Linked DNA regions of Homo sapiens: region 2 is linked to region 1. The links are contacts of gene promoters, found by promoter capture Hi-C in blood cells and fetal thymus (Javierre and others, 2016). All regions are on one chromosome and are shown on one strand. The core of a region is centred on a gene start or on the middle of the fragment in contact, and the rest is flanking DNA. Distances in the headings are between cores, read along the strand shown.

Region 1 (6,017 bases), core at 643-3,142:
CACCACTCCCGGCTAATTTTTGTATATTTAGTAGAGACAGGGTTTCACCATGTTGACTAGGCTGGTCTTGAACTTCTGACCTCAGGTGATCCACCCGCCTCAGCCTCCCAAAGTGCTACGATTACAGGTGTGAGCCACCGAGCCCTGCCCCGCCCCTTCTTATTTTCATCTGCAAGCTTTGGCCATGGAGATTTGACTTAGCGGGACGTAGGGTAAGGCCTCAGCATTCATATTTTTAACACGCGCCCTCGAAGAGCTTGAGGGCCATCATAAAGGACCTTCTTATCCCTAAAGAGAGGCAGCATAGAAACACCAAGGGCATGGCAATATCACCCATCACCTCCTGTAAGGATCTGAAGATTAAGCCTCCTGAATTTGTTTCTTATTGCCACTGTGACAGATCATCACAAATTTTGTAGCTTTAAACAACATAAATGCATTATCTTACAGGTCTGCAGGTCAGAATTCTGAAAGAAGTCTCATGGGGCTAAAATCAAGGGGTCAGCAGGGCTGTGTTCCTCCTGGATGCACGAGGGGAGGATAACCCATTTCCTTGTCCATCCCAGCTTCTAGAGGCCGCCTGCATCCCTTGGCTTATAGCCTCTCCCTCCATCTTCAAAGCCAGCAGTGTGGTGTCTCCCAGTTTCTCTTCCTGTGACCCTCCTGCCTCCCTATTCTCTCTTCTAAGGACCCTCGTGACTGCACTGGGCCAACCCAGATCATCTGGGATGATCTCTGCATCTTCAAGTCCTTAAATTTGTGTATCTGCCACATTCCCACATTCTCCCTGCCCTCCATGAAAGGGAAACTGGTTTTGCAGTTTCTGTGATTCTGATCCCGGACTTTAATGGGATCATCAAAGTTCAATGAGAAGCCCCGGCAAGGCCGAGCGGGAGGGGAGAAGATGAATATTTTGGAGGCGGAGAGGGGAGCATTCCCTGGGCTAGGGAGGAGGTGGAGAGCCAAGGGTATGACTAAAACCAGGCTGTCTCCGTCTGAATGCTGGCCCGGCCTGGCCTTCTCAGCAGAGTGGCCTTGAGCAACTCAACTTCTTCATGCCTGTTTGCCCCACAGAAAATGAGGATTGTAAGAGTGAGGAATGCAAGGGTGGTGGCTCACACCTGTAATCCCAGCACTCTGGGAGGCCGACATGGGAGGCTCACTGAGGCCAGGAGTGTGAGACCAGCCAGGGCAACATGGTGAAACCCTATCTATCTCCACAAAAAATACAAAAAATTAGCTGGGAGTGGCAGCACACGCCTATAGTCCCAGCTACTCGGGAGGCTGAGGTGGCAGGATCATCTGAGCTGGAGGGGTAGAGGCTGCTATGATCCATGATTGCACAACTGCACTCCAGCCTGGGCGACAGACAGTGCCTCAAAACAAAAAGAGGAGAGAGAGAGAGAGAGAGAGAGAGAGAGAGAATGAGTGAATGTATGGGAAATAAATGAATCAATGCTTGGCACATAGGAGCTATTAGGGAACTGTTTGCTGCTGTTGCCATCTTAACAGTAAGCTGTGTGCACAGAGATCCAAGCACGGAAGTCCCTTCCACATGGTGGCTGTGGCACAGCAGTGAGTTGGCAAGGAAGCTTCCAAATGACAATGTGCGCACCCACCGGCTTGGGGAGATGAGGGCTTGGATTAGGCAATAAAACACCTGCCATCTGTATGGTTCACCTACTGCAAGAGACAGAGGACATGCTTTACAGGCAAGGCAAGGGGGTCTCTCGCCCTTCCAGCCCTGCAGCTTGGGTGCCAGGGCCCTGCTAGTTGTGACCCCTGGCCCTGTGCTGCCCTCACAGAGGAGGCTGGGCAGGGTGGGGACTGGGCGGGGCCGCAGAGTCATAGTGGGCGCCCCCTTTATATACAAGCTCCCGGGGAGCCTTGCAGACCAGACCAACAGTAACACCAAGGGCAGGTGGGCAGGCCTCCGCCCTCCTCCCCTACTCCAGGGCCCACTGCAGCCTCAGCCCAGGAGCCACCAGATCTCCCAACACCATGGTCCGATACCGCGTGAGGAGCCTGAGCGAACGCTCGCACGAGGTGTACAGGCAGCAGTTGCATGGGCAAGAGCAAGGACACCACGGCCAAGAGGAGCAAGGGCTGAGCCCGGAGCACGTCGAGGTCTACGAGAGGACCCATGGCCAGTCTCACTATAGGCGCAGACACTGCTCTCGAAGGAGGCTGCACCGGATCCACAGGCGGCAGCATCGCTCCTGCAGAAGGCGCAAAAGACGCTCCTGCAGGCACCGGAGGAGGCATCGCAGAGGTCTGCCTGCGCCCCCGCCTTGCCCTGCATGTCCCTGACCACCCCAGGCACAGGAGGGAGGCGGGGACCCACCCCACCTGACAAAAGCTCCAGCCCCCTAACCCCCGTCCCCACCCAGAGTCCCTAGGTGACCCCCTCAACCAGAACTTTCTTTCCCAAAAGGCTGCAGAACCAGGAAGAGAACATGCAGAAGGCACTAAGCTTCCTGGGCCCCTCACCCCCAGCTGGAAATTAAGAAAAAGTCGCCCGAAACACCAAGTGAGGCCATAGCAATTCCCCTACATCAAATGCTCAAGCCCCCAGCTGGAAGTTAAGAGAAAGTCACCTGCCCAAGAAACACCGAGTGAGGCCATAGCAACTCCCCTACATCAAATGCTCAAGCCCTGAGTTGCCGCCGAGAAGCCCACAAGATCTGAGTGAAACGAGCAAAAGTCACCTGCCCAATAAAGCTTGACAAGACACTCGCTGGCCTGTCGGGTTTTCTTTGCACGAATCACACAAACCTGGCTTCCCTCACGCCCAGGGCGGGTAGAGGCTTCTCTGCAGCCCTTCCTCAGAGGCAGGTAGGGCGGGAGTTCTGATGCTCTCAGGACACCTAGGAGAGGGTTACTGTGCCTGGGAGGCCACCCTATGATGCTGTCCTGTCTATTGTGCATCCTTCCATGGTGTCAAAGGCCACATTAGTCTGTCTGGATCCCCCTCCAGTGAAGAACCTGATCCTACCTCATGAAAGGAGAAAATGGTTAGAACAGATCGAGTCCTAATTAAGTCACAAAGATGCCAAGGCACCTTGTGGCCATATTTAAATGCCTACTGTGTGCCACAGTTTAAAAACACAACCCATCTTGAGTGTTGGGTGGTTGGAAGTGTAAACGGTGGGGGCAGAGGTGGGGGCACTGCTCAGTGCAGGCCACAGCTTCGAGGTGGGAAACAGGTCTGGCATGCTCCAGCAACAACTTGGTCAGCACAGAGACGGCAAAAGGCAAGGAGTAGATGAATGCAGAGTAATGGGCTGCGCTGTGTGAGGCCTGTGCTGGCTGAAGCCTCTGGAGACCCAGGCAGAATCCGATCCTTGTTGCCTGCTCTCCTCGGCCTGTGGCTGCATCACTCCTCCCTCCTGTCTGAAATCAAGGACCCTTGTGATTGCACTGAGGGACTTTCTGGACAACCCAAGATAACCTCCCCATCTCACAATCCTTACATCATAGATTCCAGGATCAGGAAGGGGGCACTTCGGAGAGTGCCAACCTTAGCCAACCATAGCCACTGAGGACTGGGGGGATAAGACTGGCAAGATCCAATCCATATGTTGGCAAATGGATTTCTGGTGCTCAGAAATGACCAATCTTTAGGAAGCAACGAGTTTCTGAAAACAAAACAACAACAACAAAAAAAAAAACAGACGGAGTTTCGCTCTTGTCACTGGGGCGGTGTGCAGTGGTGCGATCTTGGCTCACTGCAACCTGCACCTCCTATGTTCAACTGATTCTCCTCCCTAACCTCCTGAGTAGCTGAAGGAGCTAAACAAATTTTTTTTTTTTTTTTTTTTTGGTATTTTTAGTAAAGACATGGTTTCACGATGTTGGCCAGGCTGGTCTCGAACTTCTGACCTCAGATGATCTGCCTGCCTCGCCTCCCAAAGTGCTGGGATTACAGGTGTGAGCCACCACGCCTGGCCTCAAAAAATTTATATTTAAAAAATACCATTGCAGTGTACAAACGACTCATTTCAATGTATAAAAGACAAAGTCCTAAACCCCCTCCCCCCATGCTGAAATTGTGCTGCACAGATGTGGAACCTTGCCAAGGGGCAGCTCCATGATGTCTTCTCTGTGGCCCCAAAACACTTAAGAGGATGTCACTCCACCCTGACCTGGGTAGAGTGGCCTCTGGTTGGTGGTGTCCATCTTGCATCAGTCAGGGACAAAGCAACCCCTTGTTCATCCCAGCTTGGTTTCTGGCCTGTTCCCATGCCTTGGACAAACAAACAATGCTTAGGAGCCATTGCCTTTCAAGAAGATTTCACACTTTCAGGCCCCCGAAGGAAGACTTCCAAGGGTTCCTGAGTTTTATGAGCTTACAGAGTGCATACATTTTAAGCACACAGCTTGATGATTTATTTCCAAGGGTTAACAGTCAAGAAACTCAACAGAGACAGCTCTCTCTGGCTGGCGATTTCTGGGATGTGGGGAGGAGTCTGTGTGTGCCCCTCCTGCTTCTAGAAATTCAATCCCTAACTCCCATCCCAGCTACAAGGGAAACTTTCTCCAGGGCAAATGAGGACTATGGTGTGGCATCCGAACTGGCCCCAGTGCTCAGCCTTGCAGACCTCCCCTGTGGGGGCTGGGAGCTGCCAGTGGCTGAGGTGTGAGTTAACTGTTGGCTCAGACCCAGGTTCCCAAGTGGGGATGGGCTCCCTTTGTGATGTCAGCATCCTGCCCCCACTCGCAGCCCCTTCACCCACCGCCTCACCTCCTTGCCCAGAGAGACAGGCAACGTAGACCATGGGTTCCCGCTGTGCCAAGCTCAACACAGGCCAGAGCCCAGGCCACAGCCCAGGCCACAGCACGGGCCATGGCCGGGGCCACGAATCCTCCATGAAAAAGCTCATGGCCTGTGTGAGTCAGGATAACTTCTCCTTGTCATCAGCGGGCGAGGAAGAGGAGGAAGAGGAGGAGGAGGGGGAAGAGGAGGAGAAAGAAGAGCTGCCGGTGCAGGGCAAGCTGCTGCTGCTGGAGCCTGAGCGGCAGGAGGAGGGCCACAAGGACAACGCCGAGGCCCAGCAGAGCCCCGAGCCCAAGCGGACACCCTCCTGACCCGCAACGAAGGCCCAGGAAGGGACGCCCACTGCTGCTCCGGCGACAGTGTTCAGAGAAGAGTCAATAAAAAGTCTCTGAGGAATCCTCCCTGTCTCTGGTTCCCCTCACCCTATCCCTTCTGGCCCCACGTGTGCACGTGTGTGAAGGCGTGTGTGTGTGGGTGCACACGGAGGGAGGCCAGCTGCCAAGGAAGGCTGAACAGCAAGGCTCGGTGACCTTGTTCCCAAGCCCCAGCCAGAGGTTGAGGGGCTTTGAGAGGGGGAAATCATCTCCGCCAAATCTTCCCATCTCTGGGACGGGAAATTCCTCTGCGAGTCCCAGCACACCCCAGCCGAGAGCATCCAGCGGGACAGGGTAACTGCCTTCATCGCAGTCCCCACTGTGCTGCCCCAACTATGGACCGTCTTTTAAGAACACTGGCTTGGGAGTTCAGCAGACCTGGGTTCAAACTTCTTTTCTGGTAGCTGCGTGCCCTTGAGCAAGTCACTGCGTGTCTTTGAGCCTCAGGCTGCCCCTCCCAGCGTTTAGGGGAAGCTAATAGCTACTCATGGGTCAGATGATCAGAAAAATTAGCTCAAGTGATGGGTGGGACCAGGCCTGGCACCAGTCAGTGCTGAGCTAGGACAGGGATTGTTGCTGGGGTCATGGTGGTTCCTCTAGGTCCTTCTTGGCTGCAGACTCTTCCACTGCCAGTCTATGCTGCTGGCAACCACCTGCACCCCTACCTGGAAGCTCACTCCCGCCTTCTTCAAGGGGTCTAGCCCTGGGGGCGGAGACAGTACCCCATGAGAGCAGTAGGCAAAAGAGGCCCAGGGAGGCGACTGGGTACAGACACAGAACCTAGGCCCCATCCTCTCGCTCTGGGCTCGGTGCGCCTTCCGCAAGGAGCTTCGGAGTGCGTCTGCTGCCCACCCTACTGCCGGCTC
Region 2 (6,866 bases), core at 3,070-5,569, 120 kb after region 1:
GATGTTCGTATGGCCTCCCGGGCCAAGCCTGAGCTGCCACCATGGGCGACCCCCACATCACTGATCACTGACTAGGCTGCACCTCACAACGCTTAAATACTTTTTATTTCTGATTGCTTTTCAACGGATAACATGTCCAACATACAAAAATAGCTGGGAACTTGCAGAGTCTTTTAGCCTATAGCTCTTTATCCATGGATAAATCCTCTCAGATTTTAAACACTATCCTTGAAAACCTGCAGAAAAGAAAAAATGGTCTTTCAGTATCTTGCTTTCTCTCTGTGTCCTAATTGTGCCCTTAGAAATGTTTTTGCTGTCGGGTGAAGGTCTGCCTGTGAGGGCTGCCAAGTCTAATGCCCCTTTTGCTACCGGCAGGGGGTGGGTGGGGGGGGGGGCGGGCATTTGGGCTGTGTGAATATGAGGAATGCGTGCATCTTACATGAGCACCTATCCAGGCCACAGAGGGTTGGATGGCACATGGGGGACACAGGTGGACCAGATCTTGGAATCTCTCGCAGTGGTGCAACCTTGCTTTGGATTTCTAGAACTGAAGGTCGCCAGGGCTGGGCTTGATTCCCAAGGACCCAGTCCCTGCCTCGCCCAGCCCCTGCCCTCTTCCACTGGTATTACCGTCTGTAAATTAGCAAGCAAAGACCTCCACAACAGTCTGTCAGCCAAGGCACTAGCAAGCTTGGGAGCGGCCATCTGGGCTGCCTCTCTACTGCGGCAGTCAGCAGGGCTGAAACGGCAGCAGGAGGAAGGCGGGTTAGACAGCACCCAGGAGACTCCCAGGCACAGGCGCTCACTGACCCCAGCTGGAGCAGAATCAGGAATGCACCAGGAGCAGGGTGGGTCACTATGGCCCTGCTTGCAAAGGATGGCCCCCCAAGGTTCTGGCTGGCCAAGGAGTGGCAGATTAGTTGTGTTTTTTTTTTTTTTTTTTGAGATGGAGTCTCACTCTGTCACCCAGGCTGGAGTGCAGTGGCACAATCCTGGCTCAGAGCAACCTCTGCCTCCCGCATTCAAGTGATTCTCCTGCCTCAGCCTCCCAAGTAGCTGGGACTGCAGGTGTGCGCCACCATGCTCCACTAATTTTTTTTGTTTTTGTATTTTTAGTAGAGATGGGTTTCACCATGTTGGCCAGGCTGGTCTCAAACTCCTGACCTCAGGTGATCCAGCCGTCTTGGCCTCCCAAAGTGCTGGGATTACAGGCATGAGCCACCATGCCCGGCCAGGAGCGCCAGATTCTTCCCCAGCAAGTCTCTTATCCCATCAGCCCCATTTTGACCTTTTTGGCCAGAAGCAGGGAGGCCGTACAGTGTGTATCCTACACTGACATGTTTGGCCTGCTCCGTGTGTTCTAGGAGGTGGCACTGTACAAAGGGGCCAGGGAATTAGTCTTGATTCTCTGCAAAAGGCACCTGCCGTTGACACATACTTAGTATGCACCCAAGGCAGAGAGCACCATGCCTGTGGACCCATTCCATTTGCTTGTGTTCGCCAGGACTCCGACTTTGCAGGGTGGGGTAGTTAACTTCTGCAGCTGGGTCACCTCACCAAAGTCTCTCCTACCGTGTGTTTTAACAGATTGGGGCTAGGCCAGACCGATGGCTGATGACGTTCTATGACACATCATCTACAACAAGAACTGAAGATACTATCTGGAACTATGTGAGTCAGATAGAATCAGGGAGTATGTGCGGAGCCACAGAAAGGCCGTGATGGATAACAGCACAGAACAAGCTTCAAAAACCCACAGCTGAGGTTGTTAAGTGGACAGGGCTCTGTTGACGTCTGCCCTGGCAGACCTGTGGGACATGGCTAACCGGACGGCTGGACACGAGCCTTCTGCTATCTGCAGGGGAGAAACCTGAAGAGCAGCAACTTGGCTTTAGGCTTGTCACTTTTACTCTGGCTACAGGATACGGTGGTGAGGAGAGTGCCGTGGCTCTGGGCATGTGACAGCAGGGGACCTGTTCACCCCACGAGCCTGTGTCCTCTAAAGCACTGTTGTCACTCTAAAGCAGAGTGACACCACCACACCTTACAGGGTTCGTGAGGATGAAAGCATTAACGCAATCTAAATGTTCAGGTAGCACTCGCTGTTTTGATTCCTCGGCTGGAATTTACGGTGCCTGGAACTTGGGCCCAATGAGGCAATAACTGGGATTTTCTTCTCTTTTTTTGGAGACAGGGTCTCACTCTGTCACCAAGCCTGGAGTGCAGTGGCATGATCCCGGCTCACTGCAGCCTCTTGACCTCGCCAGGCTCAGCTGATCCTCCCACCTCAGCCTCCCGTGTAGCTGGGACTACAGGTGCACACCACCACACCTGGGTAATTTTTCTGTTTTTTGTAGTGGTGGGTTTTATTTATTTATTTATTTTTGAGATGGAGTCCCGCTCTGTTGCCCAGACTGGAGTGCAATGGCACGATCTCAGCTCACTACAACCTCCGACTCCCAGGTTCAAGTGATTCTCTTACCTCAGCCTCCCAAGTAGCTGGGATTATAGGCAACTGCCACCACACCTGTCTAATTTTTTTGTATTTTTAGTAGAAATGGGGTTTCACCATGTTGGTCAGGCTGGTCTCGAACTCCTGACCTCAGGTGATCCGCCCACCTCAGCCTCCCAAAGTGCTGGGATTACAGATGTGAGCCCCCACGCCTGTCCTGGGACTTTCATTTTCGTAAGTGTCTTTAGACAAAGGGGTATGTAGCAAAAGAAATGGCCCAGCTCTTTGGAGAAAAGAACGCAACACAAAACAAAAGTCTTCCTCACATTAGCTGTTATGACTGAAGATTTTAGGAGTTAACAAAGTGAGACATGAGAGAGCCTTTCTAAAGGAACTTTAAATATCTAGGTTTAAAGGATTTATATGAAAATCGTTTACGAGAAAAATGAAGTTATTTTCATCTAGATTCTTAAAAACCTCATGTTACACTGCATTCAAGACACATGACTATTCTATTTGCATTTCTTTGATAGAGAGTTGAATGGATGAGCTTGAACCATATGCAACTGCCAATATTCAACTAACTTGACCTACAGAAACAGCCATTTCATATGGTTCAATCTACTCTAAGTCCATCCCTCTTAAAGATCCCTACCAGAATAATTCATGGAGGATGGGGACGGAGGGAACAGCCAGCAGTGTATTCAAACAAATAAATGGCTTTCCCCAATTCTCCATTTCTCTTTGCCCTGTCTGCGCATGTGTGTGCAGGAGTGTGCGTGTGTACACACCTGTGTGTGTTCCTCTCTCCAGCTACATTCATCCTTTCATTTCCAAAATCGGTAGCTTCAACAAAATGCTTAGAAATAAGGTTGGCACTTATGGGGAGGTGTGTGTCTTCTTGACAGATGACCCACAAAAAGGGGACTTATTAGGAACCAGAAGGGCTTCTCAAATGGGCTAGGTTGCTCTCTTTTCCCTTTGTTCCTCCTCACAAATGCTGAGCTAATGTGTCCAACATTAAAAATCACCCTAGCTATTATGCATTTGTAGTTTTGACTTATTTTTTTAGTATTATTAATATTTCATCATAAAAGTATTGATTTCCTTTAACTAAGAGACTTTAAAGTTTACTGTATTCTTAAGCATGATTTTATTATGTCTTGGGGTCAGATGTTTTTCCCTCCCCCAGAAGGAATGCTTTTCCTTTTCTATAATGTGCGTCAAGAAGAAAGGAGGAATTGATTCACAGAATTCTGCATTACAGGCAACTTTTAAGGAACGTATCTAGTATGTATACTTAGAGTGACGTTTCTTAAACACAACTGTACGTTTCATTGTTTAGCCTTTTTAATCTGTTAGAGGTAAGAACCAAAGCACAACATTTATGTTAAAATATGAGACAGTTTCAAAGAAGCAAATCTGGGAAAATTAAGACAACTCTGGACATGACCCTAAAGCTGTCAACTCCTCACAAGTGCTCCAGGGGTCATAAAAACCTTAGTTTCTATGTTGTCATCCTCTTCCTTCAAGAAAGGCAACAGAAAACGAGAAGGAGTCCTGCTGGCACGGGGACTACCTAGAAAAGGCACCATTTCCCTTTCTATGTAAATCGCTGGTGTCAGATGCCAATTGCACAGTTGGGGAAGGAAGGCTCCGTTTTACAGAACCCATCCAGGAAGCAGGCGGAGGGCAGTAACTGGCAAACAAACACAGCGCTCTGAAATGTTTAAATATTGAACATCCTTTCTCCTTCCTCTACATTTATTATTAACTTGGGCCCACATCACTATGTGCATTGACTTCATTTCTTCCCAAGAACCCAAGACACAATGGACAATGCTCAGAGGCTGCGGGGTCGGGGTGGAGTGGAGATTTGGGTTTCTTTCTTCATACCCTCGCTGGAGATCCTTTCCAGTCAGCCCCACGGTTTTAGAGCCATGAATTCCTGGAAGCGTCTCAGCCTTTCAATGACCCCTGGCGCCCGAACGCAGATGATTAGTGCCCCAAATATTGACAGACTGGACTTTCTTCCCCTTTGACACAGGGGAGCAGTGTCAGAGGGAGGCTGGAGGAAAGATGCCGTCACCACCTGACTGGCGAGATTGTGGGAACGTCATTAGGACAGGTGCTCTATTATTTGGGACCACAGTGGTGCCCTTAGCTTTGACCAGGTAGAAACAATGCTCAGGATGCTGTGTGAATGCTACAGGGGACCTGGTTAAAAACAAACAAAACAACCCTATCTACAGACACCAGTAACTGATGTCTTTTGCTCAGCTTCTAGACAACAGAGGGGATTGGCACTGGCCCTGCTCTGACAGGTGCAACCCACCAGATGTCAATGTCCTGGACCAGCAGCTGAGCAAACACAGAGCTTGGGCCCCCCGTCATTCCTCATGAAGATGAACATTTGGGATCAGAAATAGAAACCCCAAATCTCTCCAGAAAACAAGGCAGCACCTTTTCCTGGGAACAGATAAGGGTAGCAGGAGGACCATCTGTCAGACCCATGCAGACACCAGCCGCCCGCCTGCAGAGGGAAGATCTTGTGGGTGTGCTAGCAGCATGAGCTGGTTATGAGCACTCGTTTTTCCTGGGCTTTTAGCTGTTCAAGTGAAATTGTCCCAGATGACCGGCCTAAGGCTTCCACTTTCTTTTAAAAGACAGCACTACATTTGAGATCGATGTTTTCCCCTGAAATGCAGGCTAAATTTATCCTTCCGCGCATCTTGCTCTCTGGTCTCTGTGCTAAGCTGGCCCTTGCTGTGCTGAGTTAGGCATCTGCTGTTCAATGCTGGTTCCTAGCCGGCAGTACTCAAGCACCTAGTTCTATCCTTTTGCTCATCACACACACAAAACCCCCTGGTTCTCTGAGAGATTCCTTTGCTGCCTCATTCTCTGTAGTTCCGTTAATTAAGCTCTCACTTCCCGGGTTCCTCACCCGTCTCCAGCTCTCAGAACTACCCTAAAAAGCTATCAAAAGTTGGCTCCATTTGAAAGGCTCCAGAGAGCCCCTTCCCCAGCCGGCCCCCGCCCCCCGAAAGTGGCTGAGTACTCATTACTTGATTGCCTTTTGCAACAGTGAGCTGGTGCAGGCTGCCATGAGCTTAACGGACTGAACTAAATCAGAGAAGTCGCTACTCTCTCCTGGGCTCCCTTGGCAAGCTGCCCTGTGAGTGAAATTGCACTGATTGATTTAATGCCTGAGGCCCAGAGGGCCCAGTATTTCTGAAATCTCTATTCATCTATACAGATGCAAGAGTACATGCCCCAAACAGACATTTTGAGCTACGGTTTCTACTTTGCTATTAACCCATAGACTCTCTCTCTTTTTGGCAGGAATGAGAAATAAAAAAGTGACTTGATAGAAACAATGCCTGTGCACATGCTGGCAGAGGCGCACACATATGTGCAGAGGACTTCAGCCTGGAGCACTGGGCAGGAGTCATCTGAGAGCCCAGGTGAATGAAGACAAGGGCCCAGGTGTGACCAGGTGGGCATCCCCCTACTCTGCTTTCTGGAAGGCAATTTGGCAAGGTGCCACCCAGAGCCTGACAAATGGACAGTCCCCCTGACTCTAAGGAATGGTTTCTGGAGGAATAATTGGAAATGTAGACCAAGATTTCTGAATAAGGATGTTTGTCATAGGGTGCTTCATAAGGTAGTAGAAACAACGTAAGTGGCCAGTATAAGCGGATTAAGTAAAATCTGGCAAATTCAGACTGTTTTGTGTTTCACTGTGTCCCCTTCAAATTCTTAGGTTGAAGTCCTAACCTCTAGTACCTCAGACTCAGAATGTGACCTCGTTTGGAAATGGGGTCATTTTACAGATGCAATTAGTTAAAATGAGGTCATTAGGTTTGGTCCTAATCCAATATGTCTGTGCCTCCTAAAAAATGAAAATTTGGACGCAGATTTTCACACAGGTAGAACATCACGTGAAGATGAAGGCAAGACTGGGGTGATACTTCTATGAGCCAAAAAGTAGCAAAGATTGCCAGCAAAACACCAGAAGCCAAGGAGGGAGGCCTGGACCAGAGTCCTCCTCACACCCCTCAGAGGAAACCAGCCCTGCCAATACCTTGATTTTGCACTTCTACCCTCCAGACCTGTGAGACAATCAATTTCTGCTGTTTATGCCACCCAGTTTGTGGGACTTTGTTATGGCCACCTCAGGAAACTAACACTCAGACAATGGACTATTATGCAGTCATCAAGAATGAAGTTTAGAAGAGGCATTTTACAGTACAGGGAAGTGCTTCTGACATGATGGCAATGTTGTGAAAACAAAACCTTGTGACTTGGCAGTTCTGCTTCTTGTACTGCACGTGCACACAGAGAGAGGTGTGCCCAAGGATGCCCACTGCAACGCTGCCCGGGATAGAAAAAGACTAGGATGACTGAATCACTC

The links. The method cuts DNA at HindIII sites, captures the fragments that hold promoters and counts their contacts. A CHiCAGO score of 5 or more calls a contact.
Region 2: a fragment that was not itself captured here is called in contact with the fragment with the promoter of PRM2 in region 1 in 1 of 17 cell types (activated CD4 T cells); the score reaches 5.2 in activated CD4 T cells.

The regions. Positions count from the first base shown.
Region 1 is chr16:11,272,355-11,278,371 of GRCh38, reverse strand. It overlaps PRM2 (protamine 2), which reads left to right and starts at 1,892. Exons shown (of 2, transcript NM_002762.4): 1 at 1,892-2,272; 2 at 2,435-2,733. The coding sequence starts at 2,002. The coding sequence ends at 2,472. All of the region lies in intron 1 of LOC105371082 (a long non-coding RNA gene), which reads right to left. It overlaps PRM3 (protamine 3), which reads left to right and starts at 4,743. Exons shown (of 1, transcript NM_021247.3): 1 at 4,743-5,173. The coding sequence starts at 4,777. The coding sequence ends at 5,088. It also overlaps the pseudogene LOC124900380. RefSeq lists an enhancer at 5,662-6,017. The HindIII fragment of the contact is 881 bases long and covers 1,595-2,475 here.
Region 2 is chr16:11,150,447-11,157,312 of GRCh38, reverse strand. All of the region lies in intron 22 of CLEC16A (C-type lectin domain containing 16A), which reads right to left. Among named protein-coding and RNA genes, the nearest start is that of SOCS1, 100 kb to the left of the region's middle. The HindIII fragment of the contact is 5,148 bases long and covers 1,746-6,866 here.